Regions from separate parts of the Homo sapiens genome. Here regions 2 and 3 are each linked to region 1. The links are contacts of gene promoters, found by promoter capture Hi-C in human tissues and cell types (Jung and others, 2019). All regions are on one chromosome and are shown on one strand. Each heading gives the region's core, a stretch centred on a gene start or on the middle of the fragment in contact. The rest is flanking DNA. Distances are from core to core; before and after follow the strand shown. Region 1 holds the start of OR2S2 (olfactory receptor family 2 subfamily S member 2). Region 2 overlaps GNE (glucosamine (UDP-N-acetyl)-2-epimerase/N-acetylmannosamine kinase). Region 3 overlaps RNF38 (ring finger protein 38).

Region 1 (3,353 bases), core at 272-2,771:
GAGATCATAACAGTGTGTACAAGTTTGACTTTGTCCTTTTAATTTATCATTATGCTATAGCAATATTAGCACAGAGAAAATTATAAATAGGACTATAAGATCTGTCTAATATTGGAGGGACAGAATCTTTTGCAAAGCTGTGCACCAAAAGAGAAAAGCAGCTGTTTCGTGAAAGAACTCAGGACTAGGTCTTGGAATCCAACTCCAGCTCTGCCATTCAACCCCAAGGAGCAAATTTATCTTCTGAGCTCCAGTTACTTCACCTGTAAAACCTGAATGATAATATCTTCTCCATGAGCTGTTTCAAGAAATATGGCACAGCTTATATTCCTTAATATTAGTGAGAATCCCTAATATTCTCACTAATATTAATATTAACCACTCATCTTCCATCATCCACCCACTCTTATACACACTCATAGAGCCACTGTCATTAAGAAGGAGCTATCAAAATATTATCTATGAGTACTTTGAATTTAGAGTCAGGGAAATTGCAAGTAAGAGACTAGATATCCTCTATACAAAGGCATATAAGTCTTCCTATAAGCCAGCTGCTTGCATAGAACTCAAGAATGGAGTCAGAGAGTCAGAAGATAATGCAAGAATAAAATGCAAACATAAAAGGACAAAGAAAAAACATTCTTAGTCATTCACGGTTAGGAATTTCACAGACATCCTAATGAGATGGGATCAGAAGTTAATGCCATATACTCTACTATCGATAACTATAGTTAGAGTGTGGTTATTAATATTGCATTAACTAACTGGTAAGCTACACAGTGTTGTCTCATGGTGTGAGTTCAGTCACTCCAACAAATCCATTTGTTGGCTTCATAAATTTCCCAGCTATAGGACCTCCCCATATATTGCAATAAATCCATATTTCAAATAGGCAGATCTATTCCTGTCAATGCTCAAGCCTGTGTCACTAGACTGAAGAAGTAATGCTCTTTATGGCTGAATATTAACTAGGCTTGTTTCTGTGTGAATATGGTTGAACAATTTTGCGCAATTTCCTCCCCACGTGTAATCAAAGTTTAAAGAAACTTAATCACTTGCTAGGTCCAAGAATTGCATCTTCTTGGGAATTTTCCTCTCTGAGAATCTAAGAAAGCCCAGATCAAATGAAATTGCTGTGGATTTGCATTAAAGAGAAATAATTCATAGCATTTCCTAGCACTTAATCACAATGAAGAGGAAAAGCCCTCCTTGGGCCAGGGATATGCTCTGCTGGGTTCAAGTCTTGTCTCTGTCACCAACTTGCTCAGAAGATTTGGACAGGTCACTTCTCCTCCCCAGGCCTCTATCACCTTTGTGGACACTGAGAGGGTGCAGCAACTTCAGAAAAATCCCTCATGCACAACCGGACATTTGAGGCCCTCACCCACTACCTGTCCAGCTCTGACCTTCTGTCTTCTAAGACACCCCCTACTGTCTCTTTCCGTCATTTTTCTCTTGCACAGATATGTTCTTCTATTATGCAATGGGAACTTGACCACATATTAGATGCCTAGGACTCTTCCCAAAAAGCCTGATGCGCTGCTCAGTACTTTGCTGATGGCAGAGGGGATATCACATGGAAAAAGCCAATGAGACCTCCCCTGTGATGGGGTTCGTTCTCCTGAGGCTCTCTGCCCACCCAGAGCTGGAAAAGACATTCTTCGTGCTCATCCTGCTGATGTACCTCGTGATCCTGCTGGGCAATGGGGTCCTCATCCTGGTGACCATCCTTGACTCCCGCCTGCACACGCCCATGTACTTCTTCCTAGGGAACCTCTCCTTCCTGGACATCTGCTTCACTACCTCCTCAGTCCCACTGGTCCTGGACAGCTTTTTGACTCCCCAGGAAACCATCTCCTTCTCAGCCTGTGCTGTGCAGATGGCACTCTCCTTTGCCATGGCAGGAACAGAGTGCTTGCTCCTGAGCATGATGGCATTTGATCGCTATGTGGCCATCTGCAACCCCCTTAGGTACTCCGTGATCATGAGCAAGGCTGCCTACATGCCCATGGCTGCCAGCTCCTGGGCTATTGGTGGTGCTGCTTCCGTGGTACACACATCCTTGGCAATTCAGCTGCCCTTCTGTGGAGACAATGTCATCAACCACTTCACCTGTGAGATTCTGGCTGTTCTAAAGTTGGCCTGTGCTGACATTTCCATCAATGTGATCAGCATGGAGGTGACGAATGTGATCTTCCTAGGAGTCCCGGTTCTGTTCATCTCTTTCTCCTATGTCTTCATCATCACCACCATCCTGAGGATCCCCTCAGCTGAGGGGAGGAAAAAGGTCTTCTCCACCTGCTCTGCCCACCTCACCGTGGTGATCGTCTTCTACGGGACCTTATTCTTCATGTATGGGAAGCCTAAGTCTAAGGACTCCATGGGAGCAGACAAAGAGGATCTTTCAGACAAACTCATCCCCCTTTTCTATGGGGTGGTGACCCCGATGCTCAACCCCATCATCTATAGCCTGAGGAACAAGGATGTGAAGGCTGCTGTGAGGAGACTGCTGAGACCAAAAGGCTTCACTCAGTGATGGTGGAAGGGTCCTCTGTGATTGTCACCCACATGGAAGTAAGGAATCACAATCACATCAGCTGCCATTCAAAAGCCAAGTCATGTGACCTATAATGGTTTCTCACTCTAAGTCCATTTGCAGGAGATATTAAACTTTTCAGACGATATCTCCTGAGTTTTAGTCCTATGTCTGACAGCTTCAACAGACACCAGACTCAATAAATAATCAACTGTGATGAAGGCATTCTGAACATACGGTAAAACCACACGAGACAGCAGCCATGAAAGCATGACGCATGGCCCTTAGAGTGTCTCAGCTCTAGAGTTAGAACAGGGACGTGAGAATGTTCTCACAGCAACTTACCAGCCCTACTGGATTCACCAGGGAAATCAGAGAAATAAGGAGGGAGTGGAAACTTTTACTGAGGCTTCAGTTTATTACACTCAGTTTGCCTGAATGGCTAAGAAAAGGTAAGTTCTTCACTTAGGGAGCTTTTAGTTGTGAATAATCTATTTTGATGACTGAATATCTTTTTAGCTATGAGAAAATTTAGGCTATTTTTTCCTGATGCACTGCAGATCATTGAACACCACCTAGTAAATTAAATAAAATTCAAGGAGTAATGAGTTCAAATTTGACGTTCTTACAGAATTTCACAACAGCAAAGCTTGTATTCTGATAGATGCCAAATCATGTTCTAGAAAAAAGATGATGGTAGATAGATATAGATAGAAGTAGACAGATGGTGGCTACACATGTTTGAAGACTTTGGGTCTAATTTCTTTTTTTTTTTTTTTTTTGAGACAGAGTCTCGCTGTGTCACCCAGACGAGAGT
Region 2 (3,735 bases), core at 700-3,199, 260 kb before region 1:
AAATAAATGGACAAAACATGTTATGTATATATCACACATACATGCACTGTATGTGTAGTATATCTGTGCTTCATACATAAAAACAGTGTAGATTTTTGGCCCCCAAAACCAATTTGTGAGCATATGCTGAAGGAAAAGAGATGGGGAGTGGAGGCCGAGAGTGCAGGAGAGAAGTGTATAGAGCCCTACAGTAGGGTTCTGAAGAGGTGGGAAGAGATGAGCTGCAAAGCCAGGCAGAGGGTCCACGAGAGGGCATGGCGAGCCGAGATGATGGGTGTATGGGACAGGAAGCAAAAAGGTAGGGGATCACTGCCTGGTGGTGCCCCCTATGAGAGAGGTAAGAAGTATGCTCGTCTGTTGGCAGTGGGGGTAGAAGGACTGGGAAGGTGGTGAAGGTATAGAAAAGCGCAGTCAGAGAGAATGGGTGAGAGCTGTGAGGGCCCAGGGGAGACAGGAGACCACCAGTTGATGTCTAGGTTGCAGTTTGCACAGCTGGGGATTTTTCTCCTTCAGGGTCCAGATATTCTAGCAGATTAGTAGGAGGCAGATTGATCTGAGTTGGTGACGGGCAGAAGACAAGGACTACAGATAACCACAGAAATACCTGCTGCTTACTGAGCATTTACTGTGGCCAGCACTTAACTAAATACTTTATGTCCATGATCTCATTCCGTTCCTCAAATAACCCTGCCAGGGGAGGCACTACTGGTCTCATCTTCTAGGAAGGAGGAATGTGTACAGGTGAGGTGACAGGCATGGGGTCATGCAGCTGGGAGTGGCAGAGCTGGCACTGACCCCAGGCCTGTGTCTGTTCCTCAGCCACTGTGCCTCGCTGCCATAGAACGCGTGGCGCTGGCAGATGGCACAGCATTGTGTCTGGGATGAGTAAGGAAGGAGTGAATGTGGGAGGAGGGTGATAATTTGGAGAAAAGAACACTTCAAAGACTGTCTGCTACTGGAAGTGAGAAGTGAGGGAGCCAGAGGGGTAGGAGGCTGTCGTCAGACTTGAGGTTTTTCCAGGAAGATAGGTTCTGGGTTATGTACAACCAATTAGCAAGAGGGTAGCAAAGGCTTTAGGGGCAGTGTATAGAGATGTTTGTGAACGATAAGCTTTGCAATTGTGAAAAGAAAACACCGTCTTCCCATGTAGGGGCTTGCTTTCCACAGGCCCAGTGGTGAGCTTGGCCTCCCCACAGCTCATTAGTGACTGCTTTTCCTTCTCACTCTGTTCAGAGGACCTGCTCTTGGTGGAAGGGATGTCAGTGCCAAAAGATGAGGCTGTGGGTGCGCTCCATCTCATCCAAGCTGCGAAACTTGGCAATGCGAAGGCCCAGAGCATCCTAAGAACAGGTGAGCATGTGGCTGCAGGTGGCTGTGCTGCAGGGGGTGGCCTCAGATATCATATGGCCCAGCCCGGCCCCAGAAGAGACCCTGCTTCCCTAGGGACAGGTGCTTTGCAGTGTCTGTTCAGAGGTTTCTTTCCTAATTACTCAGAGGTAAAAAGGGAATTGGATTCAAGGTATTTGGCAGCATTGCCTTTTTCAGCAGGTGGTTGGTTTGGTTTGACAACTATAAAAATGCTCCTTTCATTTTACAGGAAATTTAGAGAAATATAGGACAGTTGTAAGAAAAAATATCACTTAGTTTTCCCATTTGGAGGTATCAACTATTAACATTTCCTTCGAGTCTTTCTATTCATTTTTTTGCCTAGTGGAGATCATGTGGTACACCCGGCTTTTTCCACTTGAGGCTGTCACATGATCATTTTCTCATATTAAGAATCAACCGTGAACTGCTTTTAAAACACTGCCTCCCACTGCATGCCGTGGATGTTCTTTAACATTTCTGCTGCTGGCTCTTTTCTGCCTTCCTCTTTGGTATTTTGATTTTGGCTTCTCTCAGAAACTCATTTTAATTTTTGTCTCCCTATAGCTGGAACAGCTTTGGGTCTTGGGGTTGTGAACATCCTCCATACCATGAATCCCTCCCTTGTGATCCTCTCCGGAGTCCTGGCCAGTCACTATATCCACATTGTCAAAGACGTCATTCGCCAGCAGGCCTTGTCCTCCGTGCAGGACGTGGATGTGGTGGTTTCGGATTTGGTTGACCCCGCCCTGCTGGGTGCTGCCAGCATGGTTCTGGACTACACAACACGCAGGATCTACTAGACCTCCAGGAACAGACATGGACCTTCTCTCCAGAGCTCCTGAGTGGAATCAAGTTCTTGTCTTTAGGATGACCGTTTCTTAACAATCAAATCTGGTATTGAACTGCAGGTGACTTTGGCAGAGAAATGTTTTCACTTTTGGTCTCCTCTTCCAGAGTCACCTTTCCCCACTCCTATTTTTGTAGATGCTATTCTTTCTGATGTCTTCTTACTAGGGGTCATTTTAGCTCAAACCCTGTAAGTTACAGTCACAATTTTCTGTGCCAAAGCAGCTACAATAATAGAGAGGAAGCCTTCTTAGAACTCTGCTTACTAATGTATTAATACCACTGAGACCTTCAGGCCTTGCCTGGGATATCACTTCATCCTGAAGTTTGCATTAATAATCCTTCCAGGCCGGGCACAGTGGCTCACGCCTGTAATCCCAGCACTTTGGGAGGCCGAGGCGGGCGGATCACGAGGTCAGGAGATCGAGACCGCCCTGGCTAACATGGTGAAACATGGTGAAACCCCGTCTCTACTAAAAATACAAAAAATTAGCTGGGTGTGGTGGCGGGTCCCAGCTACTCGGGAGGCTGAGGCAGGAGAATGGCATGAACCAGGGAGGCGGAGCTGGCAGTGAACTGAGACCGCACCACTGCACTCCAGCCTGGGTGACAGAGCAAGACTCCATCTCAAAAATAATAATAATAAATAATAATAATAATAATAATAATAATAATAATCCTTCCAGCTGGGCGCAGTGGCTCACGCCTGTAATCCCAACATTTTGGGAGGCCGAGATGGGCGGATCACCTGAGGTCAGGAGTTCAAGACCAGCCTGGCCAACATGGTGAAACCCCATCTCTACTAAAATACAAAAATTAGCCGGGCGTGGTGGCATGTGCCTGTAGTCCCAGCTACTCGGGAGGCTGAGGCAGGAGAATTGCTTGAACCCGGGAGGCGGAGGTTGCAGTGAGCCGAGATCATGCCACTGCACTCCACCCTGGGTGACAGAGCGAGACTCCGTCTACACACACACACACACACACACACACATCCTTCCTCCTCTAACCCCAAACTAAGATCACAGAAGGTGATCCAGTCAGAGAACAGAGGGAAATCTTACCAGGAAGGGCTTAAGTACACTTTTTTTTAAAACAGCTTTATTGTTTTTAAAGCCTACAATTTGATAAGCCTTGACATATGTATACCTGTGAAAGCATCACCACAATCAAGACACTGGACATATCTATCACTCCCCCATCTCAGATATCCCCCCTAATCCTGGATACCATTTGTTGAAAGATGTTATTACTCTAGCTGAACTTACAAGAGACTTTAGACCAGGGATCTAAATTACAGTGGCCTTAGTGACCTTGTCCTTATCTTCTTAGGACAGCTGAGAAGCCACTGGGACTTAGAGCCTTTAAAAGGAGATTAACTGTCCCAAAAGGATCTTTGCTACTGACCAGCAGACACTTCTTCCTTCAGTAGCCTTTCATACTGTGTTGAGTAACACCCTAGGGTGTCCATTAAAGTTTTGAGTTTTACCTAGAGCCCAGAGCCATGAATCAGGATTCTGTCTA
Region 3 (3,777 bases), core at 53-2,552, 380 kb before region 1:
AACCAACCAAAGATTGAAAATATTCAGGAAAAAATAAAAATAGAAAATAACAATAGAGCAATACATAGTACAAATAAAGAACAATACAGTATAACAACTATTTACATAGCACTTACATTGTATTAAGTATTATAGTGATGATTTTAAAGCATATGGGAGGGTGTGCATAGGTCACAAATACTATACCATTGTATATAAAGGATTTGAACATCTGCAGATTTTAGTATCCATTGCAGGTCCTAGAAATCAATCCCCCTCAAATACTGAAGAACAACTGCATTTCTTTTTTTCTTGTTAATTCTTGTGCTTTTAATGTCATCTCCAAGAAACCATTGTCTAATCCAAGGTCATGAAAATTTACTGTGTTTTCTTCTAAGAGGTTAATAGATCAGCTCTTAACACTTAAGCTTTTGATCCATTTGAGTCAGTTTTTATATATGGTATGAGGTAGGGGTCCACCTTTATTCTTTTGTATGTGGACATCCAGTTCTAATACCATTTTTTTTTAAATAGTATAGAATCTTTGGTATTAAGATTGACTTGATGTTAACTAGAAATTTTCTTGCTAATCTGTCAGCAAAGCAAAACTCTTACTGCCTTAACATCACAATTTTTTCAGGGTATTGGTTGATAATTTTGTTTAAAAATTTAAGTGACGTTTTGATAACAGAATAAATTATCTTGTAGGTTTCAGTAGTCATAACAATAGAAAACCATCTGGTTTTGTGGTTAAATGATCTTTTTGCTTTTTTTAGGTGTGTAGTATGCATGTGTGATTTTGAGTCAAGGCAGCTACTTAGAGTCTTACCCTGTAACCACGAGTTCCATGCCAAGTGTGTTGACAAATGGCTTAAGGTAAAGTGATGACATCTTTAAAGGAAATGACATTGAATTTTCTATTTTATTGACCATGGATTAGAGTAAGTTCATAGCTCAGTGGACAGGAAGGAAGACAAAATGGAAACACAGCTTTCAGTATGATCTCTGCAAATGAGAAAAGGCCAGTAAAAATTAACTGCAGTCAACAACATAGGAGTGACTATACAAAATCCAAAATGGATGACCTCTTGACAATCAGTATGTCCTTTTTCATGGTATATAGGGACAAGGCCCGAACTTGCTAGGCCACAGTTTGAGAGTTTAGAAGGCTACCTAATTATAGCTCTATTTTCAGAGGTTAGCATGGAGAAAAATACATCTAGTGTTTTTATTTAATTCTGACCATTTTCTCCTTTGTATATATGAACAAAAGCACAAAGGACACAAATCCTAAGAGTGGCTATGCCAGAGTGAAATTATTGCAGGGGCTTCTTTATATATATATATATATATATATATATATATATATATATATATATATATATATATATATATATATATATATATTTTGAAACAGGGTCTCAGTGTGTCACCCAGTCTGGAGTGCAGCGGTACAGTCATGGCTCAATGTAGCCTTGACATCCCAGGCTCAAGCGAGACTGGGTGTCACTATGTTGCCCAGACTGGTCTGGAACTCTTGGGCCCAAGCAATCCTCCCACCTCAGCCTCCCAAAGTGTTGGGATTATATACTGCACCTGGCTATTTAATGTTTAAAAAAAAAAGTTTACAAAAGCTGCTTTTTTACTCTTCATAGTTTCATAGTCTCAAATTGTGATACAGTAAAATGTGATACAGTAAAAGAATTTTAATAGGCTGGGTGCAGTGGCTCCATGACTATATAAAAAAAATATAGTCAAATTTATGTTATTTTTTAAATTAAGTGTTCCGGTTTGGATAAAACTAGATAACCTTACTATTTGGTGAGGAAGATAAAGTCAGTTCTGAGGGAGCACAGTTCCAGAGATCTAGTTTAGCCCAAACTCAATCCTGAAGACAAAGAGTCTTAAATTATTTTAAAAGGAAAGCATTATATGTGTAAATCCCTGACACGTGCGGACAGAGAATCAGAAAACCACAAGTTCCGTGTGGCTGATAGTTGGAATGTGAGGAAGAGTGGGAAAAGAAAAGGTGTTCAGAGATAAAATCAATGAGCGGCTTGTTGTGAAGCCACTCTGAAGCGTAAAGGAGTTTAGTGTGATCCTGAAAGCATTTGGGAAGTATATAACAGACTGTTTTATAGAAGGATTTCTGGCCACTGTTCTAATAAAAGAGGTAATTTCTGAGAGACAGGGAGATAGAATAAAGACATGGTGGGCCAGAGAATGGATAGTAGCAACTAGATGAAAAGAGGGACTGATTTGAGAATTACTGTAATGCAGAAATAAGATTATGTGCTGAATAATGGGGTTGTAGGAAGTAGGAGAGCAGGTGATGCTTATGTGTCTGGCATTAGCAACTCCACAAATTATGGTCCCATTTGTTGAAATGGAGAAAGCAAATTTAGGAGCCAGGGAACAGGTGAGTAAGTAGAGCTATCAGTATAGAGTCAGTCACCTATTTTACAATCAAGCTTTCCTCGGTACCACTAAATGTTTTCTGTGACTTCATTCCATTAAGAATAGCCAAGGGGCCAGGAATGGTGACTCAGGCATGTAATCCCAACATTTTGGGAGGCAAAGGCAGGAGGATCATTTGAGGCCTGGAGTTTGAGACCAGCCTGGGCAACTTAGTGAAACCCGTCTTTTAAATTGGTTGGGTGTGGTGGCACACACCTGTTAATCCTAGGTTTTCAGGAAGCTGAAGCAGGAGGATCACTTAGGCCCAGGAGTTCAAGTCTGTAGTGAGCTGTAGTCATGCCACTGTGCTCCTGTGGGCAACAGGGTTTAACCCTGTCTCAAAAAACGGGGGAAAAAAAGACTAACCAAGCTTTTACTTTAATGTCAGTTGTTAACTTGGTCCAAACTGGTCAATGGTAATCTTGTTTATATATTTTAACAGACCTACTAAAAATCATTCATGGCGGCCAGGCGCAGTGGCTCACGCCTGTAATCCCAGCACCTTGGGAGGCCATGGTGGGTGGATCACCCGAGGTCAGGAGTTTGAGACCAGCCTGACCAACATGGTGAAACCCCGTCTCTACTAAAATACAAAAATTAGCCAGGCATGGTGGTGGGCACCTGTAATCTCAGCTGCTCGGGAGGCTGAGACGGGAGAATCGCTTGAACCCAGGAGGCAGTGGTTGCAGTGAGTTGAGATCGTGCCATTGCACTCCAGCCTGGGCAACAAGAGCGAAACTCCATCTCAAAAAAAAAATTCCTGGGCTAATTCGGAGGTTTATGGGTTAAAAAAAGGCAAAAATTGCTTTGTACCTCTTCAGAGGAAGAAAGAATGTAAAAACTGTGGGAAGTAAAAGTAGTTCCATTGCTTTGAATGTGTTTCATTGTATGTGTCACAATTTAAACAAGTTTTCCTTTTTGTTTTGTAGGCAAATCGTACTTGCCCAATTTGCCGAGCTGATGCTTCAGAAGTGCATCGGGATTCAGAATGACCAACCTAAGAAGCACAAATTTAGTTTGGGTGTTCCTCATCACATGTATATACGGACTATCCATTGAACTTAATCTGTGTGGCTTCCAGCCCTCCCTTTACCAAAAGGGTCAATGGACCTTTCTTTGCACTGTGTGACTTAATCAACTATAAAAGCTTACAATTAGTCTTCACAGTTATGGGATTGTTATACTAACCGTGTGATTGGAACTCCAAAGACTTTTTCTTTAGCTTAATTTTGTGTGTGCACTAACATTCCCTGGTTTTTGTGTGATCATTCCGAGTGTTGCTGCAAGATTACAGTGGACGTGATCTTTTAGCATGTGCTTTTATAAAAAGTGGTAGCTACA

What was found. Contacts are between HindIII fragments. The study calls those that stand out against the background at their distance.
Region 2: a fragment that was not itself captured here is called in contact with the fragment with the promoter of OR2S2 in region 1 in 1 of the 25 tissues and cell types used here (mesenchymal stem cells).
Region 3: a contact is called between a fragment that was not itself captured here and the fragment with the promoter of OR2S2 in region 1, in 2 of the 25 tissues and cell types used here (mesenchymal stem cells and thymus).

What each region holds. Positions count from the first base shown.
Region 1 is chr9:35,956,322-35,959,674 of GRCh38, reverse strand. It overlaps OR2S2 (olfactory receptor family 2 subfamily S member 2), which reads left to right and starts at 1,521. Exons shown (of 1, transcript NM_019897.2): 1 at 1,521-2,567. The coding sequence starts at 1,577. The coding sequence ends at 2,536. The HindIII fragment of the contact is 4,346 bases long and covers 1-3,353 here.
Region 2 is chr9:36,215,798-36,219,532 of GRCh38, reverse strand. It overlaps GNE (glucosamine (UDP-N-acetyl)-2-epimerase/N-acetylmannosamine kinase), which reads left to right. Exons shown (of 12, transcript NM_005476.7): 11 at 1,234-1,350; 12 at 1,933-3,735. The coding sequence ends at 2,168. Among named protein-coding and RNA genes, the nearest start is that of CLTA, 27 kb to the right of the region's middle. The HindIII fragment of the contact is 7,322 bases long and covers 1-3,735 here.
Region 3 is chr9:36,339,403-36,343,179 of GRCh38, reverse strand. It overlaps RNF38 (ring finger protein 38), which reads left to right. Exons shown (of 12, transcript NM_022781.5): 11 at 756-855; 12 at 3,366-3,777. The coding sequence ends at 3,428. Among named protein-coding and RNA genes, the nearest start is that of RNF38, 59 kb to the left of the region's middle. The HindIII fragment of the contact is 3,787 bases long and covers 1-3,195 here.